Regions from separate parts of the Homo sapiens genome. Here all the other regions are linked to region 1. The links are contacts of gene promoters, found by promoter capture Hi-C in human tissues and cell types (Jung and others, 2019). All regions are on one chromosome and are shown on one strand. The core of a region is centred on a gene start or on the middle of the fragment in contact, and the rest is flanking DNA. Distances in the headings are between cores, read along the strand shown. Region 1 holds the start of ATP8A2 (ATPase phospholipid transporting 8A2). Region 2 overlaps ATP8A2 (ATPase phospholipid transporting 8A2). Region 3 overlaps NUP58 (nucleoporin 58).

Region 1 (3,545 bases), core at 609-3,108:
CCACTGAGAAAACCTCTCCCACTCTGAAGCTTAGCTCAACAATTTAGAAAATTTTATTTTGATTCATCTTCCTGATAAAGATTCATTTCTTATCAGAAAAATTTTTTGAGGGCCCAGAAGAGACAGGTAAAGAATCCTACCTGAAGCTACATTTAGTGTAGATTCTTGCCAGCCTGCAGTTTTCAGTGTAAGTTGCCTGTCCCTTTGGATGTTGTTTTTTGTTTTGTCTTGTTTTGTTTTTGGTGGAGTCTTACTCTGGCACCCAGGCTGGAGTGCAGTGACATGATTTCCGCTCACTGCAACCTCCACCTCCTGGGTTCAAGCGATTCTCCTGCCTCAGCCTCCCGAGTAGCTGGGACTACAGGCACCTGCCACCACACCCGGCGATTTTTTTTTTGTATTTTTAGTAGAGACGGGGTTTCACCGCGGTAGCCAGGATGGTCTCCATCTCCTGACCTCATGATCTGACCGCCTTTGCCTCCCAAAGTGCTGGGATTACAGGCGTGAGCCACCACGCGCGGCCTGGATGTTTGTTCTTAAGAAAATTAGAAGCAGAGGCCGGGGGTGGTGGCTCACGCTTGTAATCCCAGCACTTTGGGAGGCCGAGGCAGGTGGATCGCCTGAGGTCAGGAGTTCGAGACCAGCTTGGCCAACTTAGTGAAACCCCGTCTCTACTAAAAATACAAAAATTAGCTGGGCGTGGTGGTGGGCGCCTGTAATCCCAGCTACTCGGGAGGCTGAGACACAAGAATCACTTGAACCCGGGCGACGGAGGTTGCAGTGGGCCGAGATAGCGCCATTGCACTCCAGCCTGGGCAACAAGAGCAAAACTCTGTCAAAGAAAAAAAAAAAGTAAAAGAAAATAAAATCAGATGCAGAGGCCAGGCAGGAGGAGCTCAGGCCGCACTGCTGTCTTTGCTAGCACAGATTCTTTTTGCTGAACTCTGTACTACTCCTTGTCAGTCCCTAATGTTAATTTAGGTTAAAAGAAATGTAATGCTCGCATCAGTAAAAGCAAGGTCAGACTTTCACCTGAACAGTTTTATTTTTGTTTTGTTCCGTTTTTACTCCGAGGTCAGAATGTCATCAGGCACAATAAAGATAGCTTCTTATCTTCATGGGATTGTGCCCAGAAAGACCAAGCACAGTCTAAACATTACGCGATAAGAAAAAACAAAAAATAGATCAAGTGACCTTGGACAAGTCATCTTACCTCTCGATGGTTTTGTTTTATGAAAGAAGGTGTGTGTGTGTGTGTGTCGATGGGTGTGTGTGTGTGTGTGTCGATGGGTCTGTGTGTGTGTGTGTGTGTGTCGATGGGTGTGTGTGTGTGTGTGTGTGCGTGCGGGGGTTGAGAAGGTTGCTGTTAAGGTTCCCTAGGGCTACCTGCAGCTTTAATATGCGTAGTTAGAATGTCAGGCAGGTTGTGGAGAGTGGGGGGCTGGAGACCCCCGACTTCTCTGAGTGCCAAGCCACACATCAGACACCTTGGAAATAACCCTTCCACGAAGTCCCTACACAGATCCCACCAGGCTGGGCACGGAAGAACAGAAACTGCGAAAAGAAAGGGACTGGATGAGTCCTGGGGAATCACAGCGCCTCCACTTGCACAGGACAAGTGACAGGCAGGTAAATAGGTAGCAGACAGGCAGAGACTCCGAGTCCCCCAGGTGCACCCCTCTCCTGGAAGAGCCCCCGAAAGTACAGGCCCAATCTCCCACCCCACCAAGCCCTCCCCATCGCCTTCCCCGACACCTAAAAGCCCCGGTCCTGCGTAATATTGCGGATCCCTCCCAGCCTCCCGTCCGCTCCTCCTCCCGCGGGGCTCCGCTCAGGGCCGGTCCCCCGCCCCCACGCCGCAGCCCGGGCCAGCGGGGCCCGCCGCGGTGGCGTTCGCGGATGCTGCCGCATTGGCCGCTGCGGCACGGACGGCGCAGCCTCGGGCGCGGCCCGGCACAGGCGCCGGCGGTCCCCGCCAGCTAGCAGCCCGGCGAGGCGCTGGCCCACCCATGGTCCTCGGGCGGCGGCCCCTGCGCCCAGCCCTGCGCGTAGCCTCCGTCTCTCGCCCGGGGCCGCCGAGCCCCCGACACGGGCGAGATGCTGAACGGCGCAGGCCTGGACAAAGCTCTTAAGATGTCCCTGCCGCGGAGGTCGAGGATCCGCTCGTCCGTGGGTGAGCTGGGAGGGGCGCGGCGAGGGAGGGTGGGCCCGGGGCGGGGGCGGCGCGGGGCGCGCCTGCGGTTATGCGACACTGCCCCGCCCGCGCCCCGCTCCCCTCCCTGGGCTCCCTGGGCTCTCTGGGCTGCAGGATCCGCCGACGCGGCGCGCTGGCCGCACGGGGGCTGGGCGTCGCTGCACCTGCGGGGCCAAAAGGCTCCAGGCCGGGGCGAGGTGAGCGGCGGGCGTCAGAGACCCCCGGCTCGTCCCTGTACAGATGTGTGTGTGTGTGTGCGGCCTCCCTGTGCGCGTGCCCGTGCGCCCCTACGCGCGGATGCGGCTCAGGGATGCGACCTAGGCGGCAGTCACCGCGATGGTGGGCACGGTTTGGCGGCGCAGAGAAGATGCAGCCTTCCCTGCCGGCGGCCGGCACCGCTGTGCTGCAGAGCTCAAAAGCAGAGGGGGAAAAAGGCATCCGAAGGGTCCCTCGAGTGATTCTCACCACTTGGAGCCCCGGGTCCTCGCGCGCTCACAGCGGCGACGTACTGGCTCATAACCATCCGTGCATACAACCATCTGGAGACGAACACACACACGCACACGCGCGCGCACACACACACACAGGTACACACACACGTACACACGCACGCGTACACATACCCTGCCTGCAGGCGCCTGGGTGTTGGAACTCGAAACCTAAAGCCAAACACGCATGTACCATACCCGACCACTCACACTGTTAGAGGCCCGCGTTCTATGATTATAGAACACATTTAGAAACTATGATGTCGTGGAGCTGGATGTTATGTGGCTATGACACTTGATAGGGTTACCTAGACCATTAGTTAATGCAGACGTAAAGAGGAGCCCCAAAAATGATTTCTTACCGTTTCAGGACTGCGGCAAGTTTGCAGGTAGATCTTTGACATGAGGAAGGTAGAGGGTGTACAGTTTGGAGCTGGGGTCACTTGTCTTCGTGCTTTTTTATTTGTTTTGAGAAAATAGGCACATAAAAATAAGCGACTTTTGTATTTCTGTAGTTGAGTAACGTGAGAGGGAAGCAAGCTTATCAGGTAATTTAAGCCAATGTTTGTTAAACTTGGGTAAAGTCAGGACACTTTCACATTCATTTTGAGGAGAATCCCAGCCTGAAGGGGTCACGGGGTGCAGGGTCAAGACTAAATAGCAGGGAAGAGCTGTGGCAGAGAGACAGTGGGAGGGCGCAGTCATACAGGTGTGAGAATTTCCCAAGGTGGAGGCAGCCTGAGGAGACCTGGGGACACCCTCTGTACCTTTGCAGGTGGGGCCAAAGGCATTTGCTTATGATTTGGATGTGGGGCTTCAGTACAAGAAAAGAATCAAAGATGCCCCCAAGGGTTTTGGTCTGA
Region 2 (3,545 bases), core at 410-2,909, 87 kb after region 1:
AAATTATCTCTAAAAATAAGCATGCTCCTCATATGATTGTTATGAGGATTGGATGGATTTACACATACAGAATGCTTAGAACAGTGGTAGGCTCAACAATAGTTGTGCTTTTTACCACACTCATCTATGGCACCTTAGTGACATGGCAAAGACAACAAATCGACCTGGCAACCCTGAGTCGGTTGTGGAGGCCTTGGATTCAGATGATTGCATATGCATCTCTTTGGCAGTGCTCTTGCTTTTTAAAGATTTTCTCATATTTTAAACTTTCTCACTTCTGTGTCTGAGAAGAAAACGTGATACACAAAATGTCAACTCAACAAGAGAGTCGGGAAAAGCCATCCTACTGGGGAAGTCTATTTTGTGTCAGTGGAGTTGGGAACAAAAGTGAATGAGCTGGCCTCTGTAGTGACTTGCTCAAATCTGACTGCATGTATTTAGTGGGTTAAGACTGCTGATGGAAGTAGAGCATTGGGTTCATATGACCAGTGATTGTAAGCAAACAGGACAGGATAATTGGCATGAGAAACTGGGGCTATAGTTGAAGCAAATGAATGTGTTTTTCTCTTGTACTTGACTGTTGACTTCCGTCTGCTTGGAGCCTCCACCTCCCCAAGAAAGATTAGAAGGAATGTCAAGAGAAACATCAAGACGTGTTCATCGTATGTCTTTCAAAAATAGCAGGATTAGGCAAGCCAGCCTTTTGTTTACGAGGAGACTTTGTAGACTAATTCTTCTTTGTAATACATACAATACTTAATTGTATATATTAATCTGCCTTATATAGTTATATTATAAATATCTCACACTTACAAGAGTTGGATGGCTTGACTCTCAACATTTTCCACATTAAAGAAGAGATACCTAAGCAGGTTTTTTGTTTTTGAGATGAGGGTCTTTCTGTGTTGCCCATGCTGGCCTTAAACTCTTGGGCTCAAGCAATCCTCCCGCCTCAGCGTCCTGAGTAGCCGGAATTTACAGGTGCACTCGCCATGCCCTGCAGAAGCCTCATGTGTTAGGGCGCACCTGCAATTCCAGCCACTATAATTTTAAGGAGTGTTTGGAATCCAGAAGAATGGCATGAGGGAAGTGCATTAAAACACTTGCCTGTTTTTGATTTCCAGAAGGTGGAGTGGAAGGCAGGAGGAGGAAAGAAAGCAATGTAATGAGATACACCTTGATGTTTCTCTCCGTGGGGAAAGTTTTCCCAGTTGGAGAGATGAGGTGTGTGGGATAAGTGAGGATAATACTGAGGAGCAACAGGGAGGTCCCGTTTTCTTGAACTGCCTACTTGTGCTTCCCATGTGGTCTGGGAGCTAATCTGAAAGCTCCTGGGGCCTCTCTGGGACCTCGCTTGGTAGGGTTGTGGAATGAGGCTGACAGAAGGTGGCAGAGAGAGCACAGCAGGTGCTGTAGTCTCTGCAGAGGGAGCCCAGGTGAGGCAGAGCCATCTAGGGAACACAGATGCCCTTTGACAAAGCCAAGCCAGACCAGTCACAGACATAATCCAAATGCCAGCAAGGGGACCAGGGATGTCATTCTGCAGACCAGAGGAGGCAGAAGGCATTTATGTGTAAGGATCCCAACTATTCCCCATGCCCCCATCTCTACCCTCCATGGATCCAGCACCATTTTCAAGAGAGAAGCCAGAGGACGATGAAGTGATTTGGGAGCTAAAGCATCCTTATTCAAGGAAGACTGAATACCACTTACTTAAACTTTTCACATTGGACTGAGCTACCAACAAAACTGGACATTTCCATTTTTTCCCAGCTTTCTATACAGGATGATGCCTTAGGAGGTGGGTCAGATTAGTTGCAGACTAAATTTAAAGAATTGCATTTTTCTCTGTCCACTTAAGACAGAATGCGAAATTTTGTGTTCGCTTGATTCACTCGTCAAACATGTTTACTGAATGCCTTCTGCATCCTATTTCCTGGGGATGCAGAGGTGATGAAGATGAGCATGGGCCCTGCCCTCCTGGAGCTCCTAGAGAATGTTGGAAGACAGAAAATGAACACACACATTTTATGGAGTGGTATGTCCATGCAAGAAATAATGTGTGGTGTTAGGGAATAAGTGAGAAGGGGAATGCTGTAGCTAGGGCGTGGTCACAAAGTGCTTCTGTGGGGAAGTGACATTTAAGCTGATGCCTGAGTGACAGGAAGAAGTTAGTTAGCAAAGACTAGGGAATGACATTCTAGGTGAAGAAAAAGCAAGTACCAGGTCTCTGGAGAAGGAACAGAGCTGATGTCTTGAGGAAAGAAGGTCATCATGGGTGGGGTTCAGGAGCAGCAGGAGAGGGGTCACTGATGTCACTGGGGAGGTAGGCTGGCTATGGGGTTGGTTGCAGTGAAGCCATGAGCCTTTGGCCAAGCTGTGTGGGTCTTCAAAATGCTTAGGACAAGGTTGGATGCAGTGGCTCACGCCTGTAATCCCAGCACTTTGGGAGGCCGAGGTGGGCGGATCACCTGAGGTCAGGAGTTCAATACTAGTCTGGCCAATATGGTGAAACTCCATCTCTACAAAAATACAAAAATTAGCCGGGCATGATGGTGGGTGCCTATAATCCCAGCTACTTGGGAGGCTGAGGTGGGAGAACTGCTTGAATCTGGGAGGCAGAGGTTGCAGTGAGCCGAGATTGCGCCATTGCACTCCAGCCTGGGCAACAGGGTGAGACTCCGTCTCAAACAAACAAAAACAAACAAAGAAGCAAACAAAATATGCTCAGGACAGGCAAACCACAGCTTCAAAGGAAACCGCCCCTCTCCTAGGTTAGCTGTTCAAAGATGGTGTTCATGCATATCGAATCAGCAATGAGATTTTAAAGCTGGTGTCCCTAACTTGGGCCAGTGTTGGGGTCCTACGAGCAATGGAGAATGTCTATCCTAGCAACAGAGGAAGTTGCTAAGGAGAAGTAACTGGACTTGTATTTTTAAAACTCAACCAATCCAACCCATATGAAAAATTACTCTGAGTTGAGTGTTTGAAACATAGCTTTTCTTTTTTGTTGTTGTTTTTGGTTTTAGATATGAAATACATTTCCTTAAAAGCACATTTGTCTTCATTTAATTTACAGGATAAATTTAATACATCTAAGGTATAAAATGGGTTTTGAGGAACAGAAGCCCAGTGTATATTGCTGTACTTATTGGAAACAAGACTTCAAATTACAGTGGCTCAACTTTCACCCACTGTGCCGGAGCCAACTAGGTTGTAAATAAAGTATCACCAGCACGTGTCCCTGCTCACATGCAATTACACCTGCAATGCTCTGCTTTTTCTCTGCACAGCCAAATCATAATCATTCTTATAAGCCTATTTCAAATGGCTTCCTGAATGAAATTGCCCTGTTTCTTTGGCCCCCATTGAGACTGGCAGCCATCTTTGTGCTTTGAATTTCCACATTTCTTGCTCTCTGTTGCTGTAAAAATGGAAGCTTATGCCCCTCTCCCTACCCACTACTTCACAAAATGCCTTCTATCCAGGAGGTGCTCAATAACTGAATGCATTCCACACCCAACAATATTTTAAATCATAAAGAA
Region 3 (3,545 bases), core at 452-2,951, 65 kb before region 1:
GGATTACAGGTGTGAGCCACCCGGCCTGGTCAAGATCTGTGTTTTAATTGTTAGCGAGAGCTTACCGCCCTGCTTTGTCTCCTGCCTCGCCTTCATATGCCCAAGGTGCACACAAACACATTTTAAAAATCAGTACTTCTCCTTTTACCTACTCAGTATGGATGGCACATCTCAAGTTCTACCCTTAATAAGCTCCTCCACCTCCATTCCCCTCACAGTGATTAGCTCTTTGCCTCAAACTTCTGCAGTATCTCTTTGCCATCGTTTGGTACTTGATTATAATCTTACTTATAGTAATTCTAAACTTACTGAAGGTGTGTACATTTCTACTGCTTGAATTATCTCCTGCTTGAGTATTTCTTTTCCTCCTTGTCTCCCAGTGTTTGCAAAAATTTGAGTGGCTTCTTAAGCTGATTATGAAATTGAAGACACCCGGACCCAAGTAACTTGGAGAACTCTTCTGGCTTGGAGTACAGTTATTTGTGTTGTTTATCCCCCTGGTAAACGGCATGTTCCTTGACTAGGGGACATCTTTCTGCTCCCTTGCTATTCCTGGCATAACGCCTTGTACATAATATGTTTAGTTAAATTTATAAGTATCCCTAATGATAACAGTCATAACAACATTTATTGAAGTTAATTCATCCTGTGCTCTGAACCCTTATATTTAAAAAAAAATTCTGCTGGCCGGGTGCGGTGGCTCACGCCTGTAATCCCAGCACTTTGGGAGGCCGAGGCAGGTGGATCACGAGGTCAGGAGATTGAGACCATCCTGGCTAACATGGTGAAACCCTGTCTCTAGTAAAAATACAAAAAATTAGCTGGGTGTGGTGGCAGGCACCTATAGTCTGAGCTACTCCGGAGGCTGAGGTAGGAGAATGGGGTGAACCCGGGAGCCGGAGCTTGCGGAGTGCCACTGCACTCCAGCCTGGGCAACAGAGTGAGACTCCGTCTCAAAAAAAAAAAAAAAAAAAAAATCTGCTAAGTGGGTACTGTTAATTCCTGTTTTGCAGATGAGGAAATAGAGGCTCAGAAAGGTTAAGTAATGGCACACAAGTACCAGAACATGGGGGGATTGGTACTGGAACCCAGCCACACTACTGCTGCCAGGGCTTTTGAGACTTTAAAAATGACATTGGGTTCTCCCATGGTGATTATTCTTTATGGAAGGGCAGCAAAGGAAATAATAAAGATAAATATGTAGGATAAAGAGAATTTGCCATTATGCTGTATAGTCTCCCTTAAATCTCCTACATAATTTTGGAAGTGTCAACTTGTCAAAATTTGCTTATTTTCACAGTTTGTCTTCCCACCTTTTCATAGCAAATCTGAACCCCTGAGTCTTGATAAGAGTAGTTGAAAAGTTGTGAAGTTTGTTCACTTTCACTTGTTTTTATCAGCTGTTCTTTTTTTAAGCTTTGCACTGTGCTCTGAAGAGTTTCTGTTAATGAATACATGATCCTGAGACAGGGTGATTTTGCTTTGCGTTTAACTTTTGCCAGGAAATGTCCCCACTAGTTTTTCTATGCTTTTTTTGGTGGTAAAATACCTAAGTCTATACTCTCCCCAACACCACATTGCCCCATGAATGTGGTAATGTAGCAATGGAAAGCTAGTGAAGATAATTTAAAATAACTTTTCTATGACCATTTAAAAATATGCTAGGTTTCAAACATTGGTGAAAGCAGAATAATTGTGATCCCTACTTATGATTACCTTGAGATCTGGAATCCTTATTGCTGTAGACTGCTTTTCTTGAAATCTGGTATTGTATTTTTTTTTTTTTTTTTTTTTGAGAGGGAGTCTCGCTCTGTCACTCAAACTGGAGTGCAGTGACACTATCTCAGCTGACTGCGACCTGCCTCCCGGGTTCAAGCAATTCTCCTGCCTCAGCCTCCTGAGTAGCTGGAATTACAGGCGTGTGCCACCACCACACCTGGCTAATTTTTGTATTTTTGGAAGAGACGAGGTTTCACCCTGTTGGTCAGGCTGGTCTCGAACTCCTGACCTTGTGATCCACCTGCCTCGGCCTCCCAAAGTGCTGGAATTACAGGCATGAGCCACCACACCCAGCCTGAAATCTGGTATTGTATTTTTTAAGACTACTTTTACATGTGGATTTATTTTTTTTTAAGACTACTTTTACATGTGGATTTATTTTTAAGGAAGAACAGAAACATATTTGAACTTGATGGGTTAAAGGTAAATTTATTTTTCTTTTTGGGTCCTATGACAATGTATTAGATATGTTATGTGAATGAAATTATCTTGAAGAGTTAATTTTTATTTTTCTTAAGTAAATATTGGCTCTAGTAGACCTCCTTTTGTGCATGTGATTTTTGTTTTGTTTTTGTTTCTTTAAATAAGCAACCCTTCTGTGGGGCTCAATTTTGGAAATCTTGGAAGTACTTCAACTCCAGCAACTACATCTGCTCCTTCAAGTGGTTTTGGAACCGGGCTCTTTGGATCTAAACCTGCCACTGGGTTCACTCTAGGAGGAACAAATACAGGTGAGGAGGATCTGATCACATTGTCAGAGAGTAGGCTTGGGATATTCTTTCCTAAATTGTGTCCTGTATCTCTCTTTACAAGGATCATCACTGGTAGTAGACCTTAAAAAATGGTAAATGCTAAGATGAAAAGAAATGCAAGGAATTGGAATTAAGGGCTAGTGATAGGCCCAATCATTGACTGTCATCTACTCTGATATAACGAAGGAAAACATACAAATATTAATTTAAATTTTTGGATTATATAATGTAGTGTTTTTCCTTAGTGGAGATTGTGGTTTAAGCCAGCTTTATCAATTTGGAACATTAACATACGTGAGATAATCAGCACCCTTACTGTAACATAATTTCTATTTTTTTTCTTTTTTTAGATACACAGTCTTGCTCTGTTGTCTAGGCTGGAGTGCAGTGGCATGATCATGGCTCACTGTAGCCTTGCAGCCTCTCGGGCCCAAGTGATCCTCCCACCTCAGCCTCCTGAGTAGATGGGACCACACGTGTGCACCACCACGCCTGGCTAATTTTTTTTTTTTTTTTTTTACTTTTTTACTTTTTGTAGAGAAGAGGTCTCCTCCTGGTCTTAAATTCCTGAGGTCAAGTGATCCTCCTGCTTTGGCCTCTCAGAGTGCTGGGATTATAGGCCTGAGTTACCATGCCTGGTCTATAATTTACGTTCCTAAGAGATGTTTTACATTTTTGTATTATTAAAACAAAGTGGGAAAAGGGCAATAGGTAAAGGACTTGAAGGTTTCAAAACAATAGAAAGTTTTTGTTTTTAGTACAGCTGGAAAAATAATGTTTCACTGGAGCTGACCATTTAAAAAGTTTGCTTCTTTATTTACCCCTTATTTTCTACCCTTAGAGCCTCTTGGTCATTCTTACTACTTTTTGCGTTGATCTTCCAGCTTTGAGTGCAGCACATTTCACAGCCACATCTAGAAAATGGAAGAACTACAGGAATAAATATGAGCAGATTAGTCAGTGAGCTGCTTGAGACAGCTCAGTATAGCATTTTGTTTGGAGTTGCTTTTTTTG

What was found. Contacts are between HindIII fragments. The study calls those that stand out against the background at their distance.
Region 2: a contact is called between a fragment that was not itself captured here and the fragment with the promoter of ATP8A2 in region 1, in 2 of the 25 tissues and cell types used here (bladder and heart right ventricle).
Region 3: a contact is called between a fragment that was not itself captured here and the fragment with the promoter of ATP8A2 in region 1, in 2 of the 25 tissues and cell types used here (dorsolateral prefrontal cortex and heart left ventricle).

Annotation. Positions count from the first base shown.
Region 1 is chr13:25,370,116-25,373,660 of GRCh38, forward strand. ATP8A2 (ATPase phospholipid transporting 8A2) reads left to right here and starts at 1,859. Exons shown (of 37, transcript NM_016529.6): 1 at 1,859-2,173. The coding sequence starts at 2,098. The HindIII fragment of the contact is 5,522 bases long and covers 1-3,545 here.
Region 2 is chr13:25,457,513-25,461,057 of GRCh38, forward strand. The region is part of intron 1 of ATP8A2 (ATPase phospholipid transporting 8A2); the gene reads left to right. Among named protein-coding and RNA genes, the nearest start is that of ATP8A2, 87 kb to the left of the region's middle. The HindIII fragment of the contact is 5,097 bases long and covers 1-3,545 here.
Region 3 is chr13:25,305,439-25,308,983 of GRCh38, forward strand. NUP58 (nucleoporin 58) reads left to right here. Exons shown (of 16, transcript NM_014089.4): 2 at 2,368-2,510. Among named protein-coding and RNA genes, the nearest start is that of NUP58, 5.6 kb to the left of the region's middle. The HindIII fragment of the contact is 6,165 bases long and covers 1-3,545 here.